2 separate regions of the Homo sapiens genome follow, and region 2 is linked to region 1. Evidence: promoter capture Hi-C in 16 types of primary human blood cells and fetal thymus (Javierre and others, 2016). All regions are on one chromosome and are shown on one strand. Each heading gives the region's core, a stretch centred on a gene start or on the middle of the fragment in contact. The rest is flanking DNA. Distances are from core to core; before and after follow the strand shown. Region 1 holds the start of IL36B (interleukin 36 beta). Region 2 has its middle 22 kb from the start of IL36G.

Region 1 (7,360 bases), core at 2,903-5,402:
TGACACATGCTCACTATATGTGTGTATGAGAGTCAAGTTTTGAACTTCTGAAAAATAAACTTTGGCACTACCTAAAGACAATGCTGCCAATTCGCAAACCATGTGTGGCTGTTTTAAAATATGTCCATAAATTCTTGGAAACTTCATCTTTAAGAAGGTGATATGGTTTGGCTCTGTTCCCACCCAAATTTCATCTTGAATTGTAGCTTCTATAATTCCCACGTGTCATGGAAGGAACCCAGTGGGAGGTAATTGAATCATGGGGGCAGGTCTTTCTTGTGCTGGTCTCATGATAGTGAATAAGTCTCACAAGATCTGATGGTTTTATACAGGGGAATTTCCCCACACAAGCTCTCCTGCCTGCCACTATGTAAGACATGACTTTGCTCTTCTTTCATCATCTTCCACCATGATTGTGAGGCCTCCCCAGCCATGTGGAACTCTAAGTCAATTCAACCTCTTTCCTTTATAAATTACACAGTCTTGGTTATGTTGTTATTAGCAGCATGAGAACAGACTGATATAGTAAATTGATACTGGGAGTGGGGCGCTATGTTACATGATGAACATGGCAGCATCATAAAAGGCATTGCAATTTCCTCCTAGCTCTTAGATCACTCACCTGGACAAAGCCAGCCACTATGTGATAAGGACACTCAAGCAGCCCTATGGAGAGGCCCACGTGGTGAGAAACTATTTTTTCCTGCCAACAGTCTGTGAATGCACAATCTTAGAAGCAGATCCTCTAGCCCCAGTCAAGCCTTCAGATGACTGCAACCCTGGCTGACATCTTTCCTGTAACCTAATGAGACACCCTGAGCCAAACCCTCCAGCCAAGCCAGTTTTCTCATTCCTGACTCTCAGCCTTTGTTAAATAATAATTTTTTCTTGTTTTAAGCTGCTAACTTTGCTGATACTTTGTTACACAACAATTGGTAACTAACACACCTTGACATCACTATTGGCATTTCAGCACTTTAACACTTTGCCTGTTACCCAGCAATTTGGAACTGGGTAAAAGGCAGAGGTTGGAACAGTTTGGAGGGCTCAGAAGAAGATAGGAGGATGTGGGAAAGTTTGCAACTTCCTGGAGACTCACTGAATAGCTTTGACCAAAATGCTGATAGTGATATGGACAATAAGGTCCAGGCTGAGGTGGTCTCAGATGGAGATGAGGAACTTGTTGGGAACTGAAGCAAAGGTGACTCTTGTTATGCTTTAGCAAAGAGACTGGCAGCATTTTGCCCCTGACCTAGAAATCTGTGGAACTTTGAACTTGAAAGAGATGATTTAGGGCATCTGGCAAAAGAAATTTCTAAGCAGCAAAGTATTCAAGAGGTGATTTGGGTGCTGATAACATTCAGTTTTATGTATTCACAAATATATGGTTTGGAATTGGAACCTACATTTAAAAGGGAAGCAGAGCATAAAAGTTTGGAAAACATGCAGCATGAAGATGAGATAAGAAAAACCTATTTTCTGAAGAGAAATTCGAGCTGGCTGCAGAAATTTGCATAAGGAAAGAGGAGCCAAATGTTTTTCACCAAGAAAATGGGGAAAGTGTCTCCAGGGCATATCAGAGGTCTTCACAGAAGCCCCTCCCATCACAGACCTGGAGGTCCAGGAGGAAAAAATGGTTTCATGGGCCAGACCCAGGGCCTGGCAGCTTTGTGTAGTCTCAGGACTTGGGATGACTTGCATCCCAGCCACTCCAGCTTTGGCTAAAGAGGGCAAAGGTACAGCTTGGGTCATGGCTTTAGAGGGTGTAAATCCCAACCCTTGGCAGCTTCCATGTGGTGTTGAGCCTGTGGGTGCACAAAAGTGAAGAACTGAGGTTTGGGAGCCTCCGCCTAGATTTCATAGGATGTTTGGAAATGTCTAAATGTCCAAGCAGAGGTGTGCTGCATGGGCATAGCCCTCATGGAGAACCTCTGCTAGGGCAGTGCAGAAGGGAAATGTGGGGTGGGAGCCCCCACACAATGTCCCCACTGGGGCATTGTCTAGTGGAACTGTGAGAAGAGGGCCACTGTCCTCCAGATCCCAGAATGGTAGATCCACCAACAGCTTATGCTGTGTGCCTGGAAAAGCCACAGACAGTGTCAGCCCATGAAAGCAGCCAGGAGGAGGGTTGTACCCTGCAAAGTCACAGGAGTGGAGCTTCCAAAGACTATGGGAACCCACCTCTTGCATAAGCATGACCTGGATGTGAGACAGAGACTCAAAGGAGGTAATTTTGAAGCGTTAAGATTTGACTGCCCCGCTGGATTTTGAACTTGCATGGGGCCTGTAGCCCCTTTGTTTTGGCCAATTTCTCCCATTTGGAATAGCTGTACTTACCAAATGCCTGTACTCCTATTGTATTTAGGAAGTAACTAACTTGCTTTTGATTTTACAGCTCATAGGCAGAAGAGACTTGCCTTGTCTCAGATGAGACTTTGGACTGTGGAATTTTGAGTTAATGCTGAAATGCGTTAAGACCCTGGGGGACTGTTGGGAAGGCATGATTGGTTTTGAAATGTGAGGACATGTGATTTGCGAGGAGCCAGGGGTGGAATGATATAGTTTGGCTGTGTCCCCACCCAAAGCTCATCTTGAGTTGTTGCTCCCATAATTCCCATATGTCATGGAAGGGACCCAGTGGGAGGTAACTGAATCATCAGGGCAGGTCTTTCCTGTGCTATTCTCATTCTAGTGAATAAGTCTCATGAGACCTGATGGTTTTATAAAGGGGCATTCCCCTACACAAGCTCTCTTCCCTCCTGCCATGTAAGATGTGACTTTGCTCTTCCTTCATCTTCCATCATGATTGTGATGCCACCTCAGCCATGTGGAACTGTGAGTCAATTCAATCTCTTTCCTTTACAAATTACTCAGTCTCAGGTATGTCTTTATTAGCAGTGTGAGAACAGACTGATACAGAGAGGAAGTTTAACTGCCCTTCTCTTGAGTATGGACTGGACTTAGTGACTTTTTTCTAATGAGTATGTTACATGGTGAACATGGCAGCATGTCACTTCTGAGACCAGGTCATAAAAGGCATTGCAGTTTCCTCCTTGCTCTTAGAACACTCACCTGGATGAAGCCAGCTGCCATCTAATAAGGATATTCAAGCACCCCTATATAGAAGCCCACATGGTGAGAAACTGTGGTTTCCTGCCAATGGTCTGAGTGAGCAATCTTACAAACAGATCCTTCAGTCCCAGTCAAGCCTTCAGATGACTGAAACCTTGGCTGACATCTTTCCTACAACCTAATCAGACACCCTGAGCCGAACCCTCCAGCCAAGCCAGTTTTCTTATTCCCGACTCTGTCTTTGTTAAATAATTTTTTTGTTTGTTTTAGGTCGCTAGGTTTGCTGTTACACAGCAATTAGTAACTAATACAGTTTGACATCACTATTGGGAAGTTTCTACTCCTGTTGTTTTTTCATTTTCCACTGTCTTCGGTGGGTATGCTCTCTTCTCAGCAAACATCTCAGTTCTTCATGGGCTTTATATGCCCTGGAAAGTGTCACAGCCTGCAGAGAAGCAATGTTCCCTGTGGTGACTTATCCTCACCTTTGTGAGAATGGCAATAACCCTGGAGGTAGATGTGGCCTCTGCTCTTGCTGTAGAGATGACTTAGGGCAGGTGTATTCACCTATATGAGAATGTAAGCAGAGTTTATTATGGTAAGATAGTAAATTCCTGTTAGGGAGATAAATTTAGTAATAATTAAAGTAACTGATATTCACTTGGTGCCCACTATGTCCCTAGAATTCTATAGCACTTCCCACAATGTGTTCCATGAGACTCCAATAGAGAGATAATGAGCAGCAAGTATTCCCGGCGGCTTAGGGTGGTGTGAAATCACGCTGAGAATCCTGCTTCTCCTCAGGTCCTGGTAGTTTCAGGGCCCCTCCCTAGGCCTTACTTAAAAGGCTGAGGCATCCTTGGAAGAGCAGGCAGACTCCACGGATCCCACCAGGAGAAAGGAGCATTCTGAGGTATGCTCTAGGGCACTGGTGGGACTGGAGCTCTCTCCTCATTTCAGACCCAGAATCTCCTGCTCTGTGGAAGCTGTTCTCATGCTGGGGGACTCAGTGTGGCTGCTTGACTGGATGAGACAGAGGATGTGAAGAGCCAGGTTGGCATCTAGCACAAACCCACAGACACGGGTTCCTCCCCACTCTGTCTTTCTCACCTCTCCTTCACTTTTCCTAGGTATGTAAAGAAGACATTAAGAACACGGCAAAGGCCAAATTTACATTGACTTAAATCTAAGACTGGTTCATGACCAAAAATGCATGTAGCTAGCATGGCTTTCCCAACGCAGAGAGAAAAAGGCATGGACTCAGCTCCAACAGACTGGCGTAATGAGTGCAGAATATGCTGTGAGGTTTTAAATTTGCTGACAAGAAAGGTTAACGTTTGTTACACATTCACTCTGTCAGGTACAGTGATAAAAGCAATATAGCTATTATGTTGCCTCATTCCCACATCAGTCCTCTAAGGTAAGTGCTATGCTTATTCCCATTTAACTGATAAGACAAAACGAAAATTAGAGAGGCTAAGTCACCTAAGGTCACAAAACTAGTAAGAGATGGACCTGGTATTGGTACTCTTGCAGCTTGACTTCATACTAATTCACACCCATTCCCCAATATGAAAAATAAGCTGTGTAATGCTTATAAATTCACACATTTGGAATAGAAGGCAGAGCTCGAGGCTGGGGGAATGAAGGAGTCTGCACAAAGGACCAACAGGCTTTCTAAGAAGATAATAGAAACCAGCCAGGTGCAGTGGCTCGCACCTGTAATCCCAGTACCTTGGGAGGTAGAGGCGGGCAGAACACTTGAGGCCAGGAGTTCAAGACCAGCCTGGCAAACATGAAGAAACCCCGTCTCTACTAAAAATACAAAAACTAGTTGGGCATAGTGGTGCACACCTGTAATCCCAGCTACTTGGGAGGCTGAGGCACGAGAATCACTTGAATCCCAGGAGGTGAAAGTTGCAGTGACCTGAGATCATGTCACTGCACTTCATCCTGGGCAACAGAGCAAGACTCTGTCTCAAAAAAAAAAAAAAGGAGAGAGGGAGAGAAGATAATAGAAACCAACAGAGTTGGTGCAGAGACAAAGGAGTGCCCCATAGCAGAGTGTGGCACACTTTGGGTTGGACGGAATTTATCACTCCCTGGAGTGACTTTTGGTAGCTGAGGACATCCGTGAAAGTCCTTCCTGGAGTAGGAGTGATGGTGTGCATGCACAGACACAGCCTCCAGGGAGCCGTGAGCAGAAGGGGACCTCCAGCTGCATCCAGGACTCCCTCTCCAACCCAGCCACATCAGAGGGGAAGGGTACCACTTGGCTCATAGCGCTTTCGAGAAACCCTGGATGCCAGTGAAGTCATGGGGAGGCTGTGGGCCAGGATCCACAGGGCTGCAGCTGGGTGCTGAGCCAGAGGCCAGTGGCTTTGTTGCCTGCCCTCAGCCCCGTGGCACCCTCTGCCTGGGAGGCTGGGGAAGGGCCAGGTGCACAGGCCGGGATCTGAGAGAGCGCGTGGGCAGTCCACAGGGCAGGTGAGGCTCTGAGAGAGAGTGTGGGCAGTCCACAGGGCAGGTGAGGCTCCGGTGTGTGTCACACCCACAGTTTCTGCTGACTGAGTCCCATGAACAGGGCCAGAGCCACCGGCAACTTCTGTACCCCAGATCCACATTCAGGCGCTTTCCTCGTCTGTGCCTCAGAGGCTTCCAGAGCCTGCGGACTCGCCTCCGCCGGACTGTGTAGTTTGACCATTGCTCTCCAGCAGGAAACTGGAAATAAACCCAGGGCTAGGCACTGGCTGAGCTCCATTCTCCCCGGTCCTGCGCTGGCCCCTCCGGCGGGGCCTGCCGCTCTCAGTGTGCCGGGCCAGGATCTACCGGCAGGGGGCGCTCTCCACCAGGCTAGGTCGGGAGGCCACGATGAGAGGCACGGCCTCCGATTCAAGGATCGGGAGGCCACGCTGAGAGGCACGGCCTCCGATTCAAGGATCAGGAGGCCAGGCTGAGAGGCACGGCCTCCGATTCAAGGATCGGGAGGCCACGCTGAGAGGCACGGCCTCCAATTCAAGCTCTCTTCCTCTTTTTCTGTCTCTTTCCACAAGGATCTGCAGCCCTCACCCGAGTAGCGAGCATCTAAAGCAGGACTAGACGAGGCAAGGGAGCTGCACCAGGGCTACCCCTGAGAAAGCCCCAGCTCTCCTCGGCTTTCTCAGTGATGTGTGGCTTTCGTGGGCTCCTCAAAAACAGAAACTATCTTTTTTTATTATTATTATCTGTCCCTTTTTGCTGTTTTTGATAACTTATTTATTCGATAGATGTCTGCACATTTGCCTCTTTTGATATATCTTTAAATTGTTATTATTAAATGTGGTAAGATATACATAATATAAAAATTACCATTTTAACCATTTTTAAGTGTACAGTTCAGTGGCATTAAGGACATTCACATTGTTGGGCAACCATCACCACCATCCATCTCCAGAACTCTTCTCGTTTTGCAGAACAGAAATTTTGTACCTACAAAACAATAACTCCTCACTCCCCTCTCCCCAGCGGCCCCTGGCAACCACCATTTTACTTTCCATCTCTATGAATTTGACTGCTTTAGGCGCCTCATATACGTGGAATTACACGGTATTTTTTTTTTTTTGTTATTAGTTTATTTCACTTAACTGAGTTTACTTTCAAGATTCATCCATGTTGTAGCATGTATCAGAACTTCATTCCTTTTAAGGCTGTGTGGTGTGTGTACCACATTTTCTTTATTCGTTCATCTGTCGATGGACACTTGGGTTGCCATCACCTTTTGGGTATTGTGAATAATGCTGCTATGAACATGGGTGTTCAAATAGCTTTTCAAGTCTCTGCTTTCAATTCTTTGTGAATATACCCAGAGGTGGAACTCCTGGATCATATGGATAATTCTATGTTTAAGTTTTTGAGGAACAACCATACCGTTTTCCACAGTGGTTGCACCATTTTACATTCCCACCAACAGTGCACAAGGGTTCCAGTTTCTCCACATTCTTTTTTTTTTTTTTAGACGGAGTTTCACTCTTGTCGCCCAGGCTGGAGTGAAGTGGCGTGATCTCAGCTCACTTCAACCTCTGCCTCTCAGGTTCAAGTGATTCTCCTGCCTCAGCTTCCTGAGTAGCTGGGATTACAGGTGCACGCCACCATGCCTGGCTAACTTTTGTATTTTTAGTAGAGACAGGGTTTCACCATGGTGACCAAGCTGGTCTCAAACTCCTGACCTCAGGTGGTCCGCCCACCTCGGCCTCCGAAAGTGCTGGGATTACAGGCATAAGCCATCACGCCCCACCCAATTCCTCCACAT
Region 2 (7,360 bases), core at 3,422-5,921, 98 kb after region 1:
ACCAGGAGGGTGTCTAATTTACCTCAGATAGTCTCACAACGGCAGGTCCTACTAAAGGCAAAAAAAAAAAAAAAAAAAGAAAAAAGAAAATTCAAACTGACCTGGCGGTTTAACATTAAAATGCTTGCAGGGAGCGAATGTTCCAAGAAATAGGGTCAGCTGCCAATGGCTCACTAGCACCCAAGCACTCAGCTCACAGCCCACCTGCACGCAAGCATCTTGTCTGCAAGCATTCAGCCTAAGCAGCCCTACGTCATACGTAGCCCTTGCCTCTTTGCAGACAGCCTTCCCTCTGCTGTATTGCCCATTGCTCCCTTGCAACGTATCTCTCCTTTTCTCTAAATAAATCTGCCTTTCTAAATTCAATATTGTCTTGATTGATTCCTTTATCACCACGCGCTGGCCTCACACAGCCATTAACCACGACAAGTTGCATCCCCAGAGATATTTAACCCGAGGAAAAATCGGCCACAAGGTAGCGCCACATTACAGAGAGGGAACAGATGGATTTATCTTGCACGTGGTCCCCAGAATTGCTCAGAGGCTAGCTGCAGATGCTCACCAGGTCATTTTATTAGCCTTCTAATAACACAGTTCTACATTTTATACTAACGAAGTTTGGGGCCCAATTTATTGCCTAATTTGGGATTTTAAATGTTAAACCACTGAGACTAGAAAAGATCCCTAAGGAGGCAGATATTGCTAAAGGAAAGAGAAGGGCCTTCAGCACATGCTAATATTTGAGCAGGGTTTCTTGATCTTGGCACCATGGATATTTTGAGCTGAATAATTCTGTGTTATGGGGACTGTCCTGGGCATTAACAGCATCTCTAGCCTCTCCCCACTAGATGGCAGTAGCAACACCCTCAAACACAACCATAGACCTCTCCAGATATTGCCAAATGTCCCCTGGGGAGCAAAATCACCCCGTAGTGGAGAAGCAATCATTCAGGGGACAGAGGACGCAGCAAAATCAGAAAGGAGACCAAAGACAGCGGCTAGAGGGGAGGAAACCAGGAGAGTGCGTATAGTGGAGCCAATGGCGGAAAGGTCCCAAGGAAGAGTGACCAATTGCATCCAACAGTGAGTGCCTAAAGGTAGGATGGCTGTATATCTGCTTTCCTAAGACGGCCCCAATTTATGCCTCTTGTCCAGGTACAACCATTTCTTAGGAGTGTTGCCGTTTGGATCATTTATGTGCTCACATGACTCAAAAGTCAAATAAGAGGAGAGCAGAGACAGCAGTGGGTTTGGCCACGTGCAGGCTGGTGATGACCTCAGCAAGGGAAGTTTAGGTGCAGTGGCGGAGACTACAGCCACTTTGGTAAGTGTACTTTGGGGGCAAGTTTAAAATAGAACAGGAGAAATTACAGAAAGGGGGGTCTCTATAACACTTCCTATGGGTTTTGCTATAATTAAGGATAGAGCAACGTGAGAAAGAGATGGAGAGGGTGGTGGAGATGGGAGGAACAGCTGCATGCTTTGTGCCAGTATAACTGGTCTGCTGAAGAGGAACCATGATGTTGCCGGAGCATGAGAGGACTTGCTAGAGGCACGTCCTGAGCAGGTGAGAGGGTACGATACGAGTGCATAAGTAAAAAGGACTTGGATGGAGTATAGTCAGCCCACCCCAAGTGACAGCAGGAAAGGCCTAGATTGGGGGGTGCCATGCTGGCAGATGGGCAGAGTGGTGGCAGTGGGTGGGATTTGTTTATGTTTGCCTCTGTGTTTCAAGTGAAATAGGAAACAAAGTCATCAGTTGAAAGTGACGTGGAGGTGTTGGAGGTTTGCAGAGAGAGAAGAATGTGTGAGATACTCACCTAGGAACCCAGGAGACTGAAGGAACTAAGGAAAACATATAATGTGTTGCCAGGCAGCACTGAGGCATATGCAAGGCTGGAGGTTGGAAACGTATATTGACATACAGGGCCCTGTGCATGTGTGGATTTTTCCAACCTCCATCAGCCATGCGTGTGCGGGTGCTGGCACAGAGCAGGGGTAAGGCTGGACTCAACCAGGGCTGTGGTTTTGCCACATAAGGGTGATGAAGTAAAAGGGGCAGAAGTATTGACAGTGGCTGCAAGGGAGTGATTCCAACAGGCCTTGGAATTTCATCTGGGTAATAAAGGAATGAGAACCCTAGTGGGGCGAAGAATGGTGAAAAGGTAGATGACTTAATGGATTGCATGGATCAAAGGATTTTTTGACTCAGGGGATAAGAATGAAGAAGTTGGAATGTGAGGTCACAGATTAGGATATTAGAAACTAGAATTAAGGAGGGGCTGGAGTTACTGGTAATGATCTGGCAGTAAGTGGCTAAGCTGGGGGATCATCACAAGGTTATTGGAGGGAAGAAAATTAAAGACCTGAGAGGCCGCCCTGTTAAAAAGAATGTCTATGTGTGTATTGAACCATCAAGGATTGGGACAGGGTTCTGTTGCAGCAAAGTGACAGTCACCATCCAAGAAATGAAGGGGAGGGACAGGAAGATGGTGAATGACTGCCATTAAGAGGACACACTAGAGGGCGGCGGGAGTTGGAGCTACAGCAGTGAATTGGAGGAGGAAGAATGATCTGGAAGCATCGAGGAGGACCTTACTCCATCCCTGGGCCCTGTGACATAAGGGTTAAGGGAGGAAAAAAGACAGCCACCCCTGGAAAGGACTGAGATAAAGCAGTATTCTCAGGCAGAGCCAGGTTTCAGTAAGAGCAGGAGGGTGAAGGGAAGGGTTAAAGAGGTGCAGAAACATGCTGAGGATGAACCAAGCATTCCAGAGACACCCTGAAAGAGCCCCTGGAGGTGGAGAGGAGTGGATGGAATTGGAGCAGAAGATGCAAAAAGCCATATCAAAATTACAGTGCAAGAGATGACGATGGCCTGGGTGATTGATGCAAACAAGGATAAAGAAAATAATCAATTTTGTCCCCATTTTCAAAGACAGATAGCAGCAGCAAGAGTGTAAGTCTGAGGAAAGTCATATTCCTTCCTCCTACAACATAGCACACACACTTACAAAAACAATACACAGACTCCTGGCCAATGGACTTCAAAACTGAGGAGGATCATTAAATTTAAATGTTCACCGCTGCATGAAATCTCCCTGGGTCCTGCCCTCCCTTCCCCACCCTCCTCCACTTGGGCCGGGGCACAGCAGTGATTCTCTCACCTCTCAGAGTGAGCCAGTGTTGGCTGCATTGAAGGCTCCAGATATGCAAACAGGGCAGATATTCCTGGACCAGGGTGCACAGAGTGAGGCTCCAACGCACCCTATTAACTGCATGAAGGATGAATGAGCCTCTGGTATGGGCTGGGACAGAGAAGAGGATTCAAGGGGCCCAGGAGGGTTTGGGTGGAACCTACCAGGAGCGGCAGTACAGACTCCTTGGGAAGGTGGCCAGGATTTAGCCACATTCACCAATAGGATAATCTGGAGAATTTCCTAGCTTGAGTTTCTGGGAGAAAGCAGATTTCTGGATTATCTGGTGACAGGTAACAGGGCCGAGTTCATCCACAGCCACCTGCAGTGTTAGCACCTTAAGCTGAGTTCCTTGCACCAGGATGCTGTCACGCCCAGTCAGTGTGAGACGGTTCTTGGCTGAAGGACTGAAAAGCTTGGGTAAGTGACTTCACCTAAGCCTCTATCTCTTGCTCCCGTAAGTCAGGGCTCATTGTGGCTCCTTGCAGGCTTGACTTCAGGGTTAACAGAGAAAATGAAGGTACAAGTGCCTTGTGAACTCTGAAACTCCAAACCAGTCATTCTCAAAGTGCCGTCCACCAGTCTAGCACATCAGCATCACTGGAAGCTTGTTTGAAATGTAAATTATCAGGTCCTCCAGAGCTATGTATGAATTAGAAACTCTGGGAATGGGGCCCTGCAATCTATTTCAACAGGTCCTCCAGGTGATTCTGATGCAAGTTAAAGCCTGAGAAACTCTGTCCTATACAAATGGATGTCAACTCAAGCTGCTCTTCAGAATCACCTATAGCACTTGTTCACCCGAATCCCTGAGAATGGAGCTTCAGGACTGCTATTTCTCAAAGTTTGCCTGGTGATCCTGAGATGGGGTTTGGGGGACAGAGATCCAAGGTGCTACCAGGTGTGAGGAATTGTTAGAAGGCAAACCTGGCTGTCATCTAGGGTGCTTAAAGGGTACAGATCCTAGGATTCTGCCTCTTACAGCTGAATCAGACTTTCCTAGAATGGGATTGCTGTCCAATGGCATGCCTCCTGGGTGACTCTGATGTATAGCCTGGGCTGGGAACCACCAGAGGATTATCTTCCATTGACCAAGCTGACAAACTCGCTTAAGGCTCTGAGTTTCACACTTGATTTTCTAGCCCCTGTCCTTCCATGGATCACCTGCCCCCTTCCCTCCTAATCAGGAGCACAGTCAGTGGATGCACTAATGTGGCCTCTCCTTGGCTGCAGGGAACAGGTGGAAATGTGGCCATAGGTGTGCAGGGCTGCCTGCCATGTATTAATAGCTACAGATTTGAAAGATCCAAGGACAAGAGACTAGAAAAAAATTTAAAACAGCCAAGCATTGGCCCAGTAATGGCATTTCAGAAATCCACCAAAATATTAAGATGCTTTTTGAAAAATATCCAGAGCACTCATGTAAAAGTGCTTAATTATTAATAAAAGCTGACATGTGTTGGGTACTTCCTGTGGGTCTGGCACTAGGCTAATTATGTTTTTAGGAGTTGACTCAAATGCTCCCTGTCATAATTATGTGAAGAGATATAATTATTAGCTCCATGGTACAGATTAAGGAGAGGTTACATAAATAAAAAGGAATGATACTCAAATTAGTAACCAGAGCCCATGCTCTTAAACACTATGCTATTATTTGTGGACTCTTACATAGGTGGCAAAAGTCAAAGGCTAGATTGACTTCTGTCCACTTCCAGCCAAGATGAAGTACAAGATTCAGATACACCCTTCCGCATTAAACAACTTAGGAATCAGACAAAATATACAAAGCATTGTTTGTTACACATTGGATAACAGACAGCACTAGATAGTCGTGTCTGAGAAAAGCGGTGAAATGAGCTGAGTCTTAGAATTGCCCCAGTTTACTAAGGGGCATAGTAAGGGCATAGCTGCAGCACAAAGAAGCAGAACCCAACAGAGACTGGCGTTCACCTGAGTTGAGAAAACCAAGTTGAAAATTTAGGAACACTAACACAGATATGTAGGCAAGAGTATCAGAGAGGAGACAGTTGTAGGGAAAAAGAGAGCTTTACAGAGAGACAGCGAGAGCTCCAGAGACCCGCAGAAGATTGCCCTGACGTCACTAGCTGAGTACCGATCAGTGCATACATGTAAGGATATTACTCAATATGTGGAAAAGAACAGAAGGAATGATGTCCAAAGCTCACCCAAAGACAGGAATCATTTATGTTTCCACCAGCCAGAGTGGAACAACCTTGTAACGCATATGGAGTACTCAAACGAATATTTCCTCAATAATAAGTTCAAATTAACTGAGACTAAAGCCTGCCCGCTTTGTCTGGACATGCCTAACAAAGCTTTGAGGGAAGCCTCAAAAGAATGAAACCGTGTCCAAGTAATTTAACTGTGTCCCAGAAAAAAATTCAAGAACATTTAAATAAATATTAAAATATGATCAAACCCAGCAAGGTTAAATTCAAAATGTCTGGCATCCATTAAAAAATTACCAGCCTTGAAAATTGGCGGGAAAATATTATTCATAATGAAAAGAAAAAGCAATCAACAGAAACAGGCCTAGAAAGTATACATATGATAAAATTAGCAGACATTAAATGGTTATGATTAATTTATTTTATATGTTAAAGAAGGTAGAGAAGAGCATAAGCACATTAAAGAGAGACAGGAAAGTCCCAGTACTCACACAGGGCCAGGAGCAGTTTTCACCAGTCAGGTGGGAAAACTTCATATTTCATGGAGCATTGGTAGAGTACACAGTGTCTTGCCTTAGTAGAGGGATAAATGCTGTTCTGTTCCCGCCTAACCCATCTTGAAAGAAAATCTGAAAGGATCAAACTGTATTCAAGTAACCTAATCACATCCCAGCACACAGCTCGACTAGTTATAAAAACACAAAATATTAATATCTAGAAACACAAAAATAATATCTAGCACCCAACAAGGTAAAATTCACAATGTCTAGCATTCAATTGAAATTTTCTAGGCCATCAAAGAAGCAGTAAAATATGACCTATAAGGCCGGGCACATTGGCTCATGCCTGTAATCCCAGCACTCTGGGAGGCCAAGGTGGGTGGCTCACCCGGAGGTCAGGAGTTCAAGACCAGCCTGGTCAACATGGTGAGACCTCATCTCTACTAAAAATATAAAAATTAGCCCAGCATGGTGGTGGGCGCCTGTAATCCCAGCTACTCAGGAGGTTGAGGCAGGAGAATTGCTTGAACCTGGGAGAAGGAGACCGCAGTGAGCCAAGATCGCACCATTGCACTTCAGCCTGGGCAACAAGAGCAAAACTCCATCTCAAAAAAATACATATATATATATGACCCATAAAAAGGAGATAAATCAACACTTCAGAACTGACCCAAACTTGCAAAGATACTATAATTAACAGAAAAGGACAGTTTACTAAGTACTCCGTATGTTCAACAAGTGAAAGATTAAACATATTAAGTAGAGATGTAGAAGATATAAGAAGATCCAAAATGAACTTTTAGAGTTGAAAACTACAATATTTAAGATAAAAATACACTAGGTGGGATTAAAAGTAGATTACACATTGCATAAGATAAAAAAAAATGAGCCTGAATACAGCACAGTATAAACTATCTTAAACAAAAACACAGAGAGAAAAAATAACTTTAGAGACTTAGCTCTTATCCTCTATTTGTTTCTAAACAGAGGATAAGGGGCAGAAAAAATGTTTGAAGAAATCATGATTTTTAAATTTCCAACTGAGATAGGAATAGCACTGGGTAGTCACAGGAGGCTGGAAAGACCCAAACAGCAGTTAAAACAGGAACTAGGCAAAGAAACCAAAGGATAACAGTAAACCTAAACTAAGGGAGAGAAAACAGCCAAAATGCTGATCCAGGAGACATGTCCATGACCCTTGCGCACATCCAAACAAAGGAGAAAGGGGGTGATAACTCGGAGGTCCCTATAATCCTGTCCTTTTCCAGAATACCTTATGACTATTTCACTTCCTAACTAAAGAAACGCTCATAAAACTAGAAACCAAAATTCTCTTGTGTGTGATTCATTCTTACAAGCATGCCCTTCTCTCTTAAGAGAGAGCACTTCTATTGCAAATAATGCTGCAATGAACATACGGGTGCATGTATCTTTGTAATAGAATGATTTCTATTTTGGGGGGTATGTACCCAGC

What was found. Contacts are between HindIII fragments. The CHiCAGO score rates a contact against its expected background, and 5 or more counts as called.
Region 2: a contact is called between a fragment that was not itself captured here and the fragment with the promoter of IL36B in region 1, in 1 of 17 cell types (M2 macrophages). The highest score is 5.6, in M2 macrophages.

What each region holds. Positions count from the first base shown.
Region 1 is chr2:113,049,659-113,057,018 of GRCh38, reverse strand. IL36B (interleukin 36 beta) reads left to right here and starts at 4,152. Exons shown (of 5, transcript NM_173178.3): 1 at 4,152-4,202. The HindIII fragment of the contact is 9,836 bases long and covers 1-7,360 here.
Region 2 is chr2:112,952,499-112,959,858 of GRCh38, reverse strand. No RefSeq gene overlaps it. Among named protein-coding and RNA genes, the nearest start is that of IL36G, 22 kb to the left of the region's middle. RefSeq lists a silencer at 755-804. The HindIII fragment of the contact is 1,729 bases long and covers 3,807-5,535 here.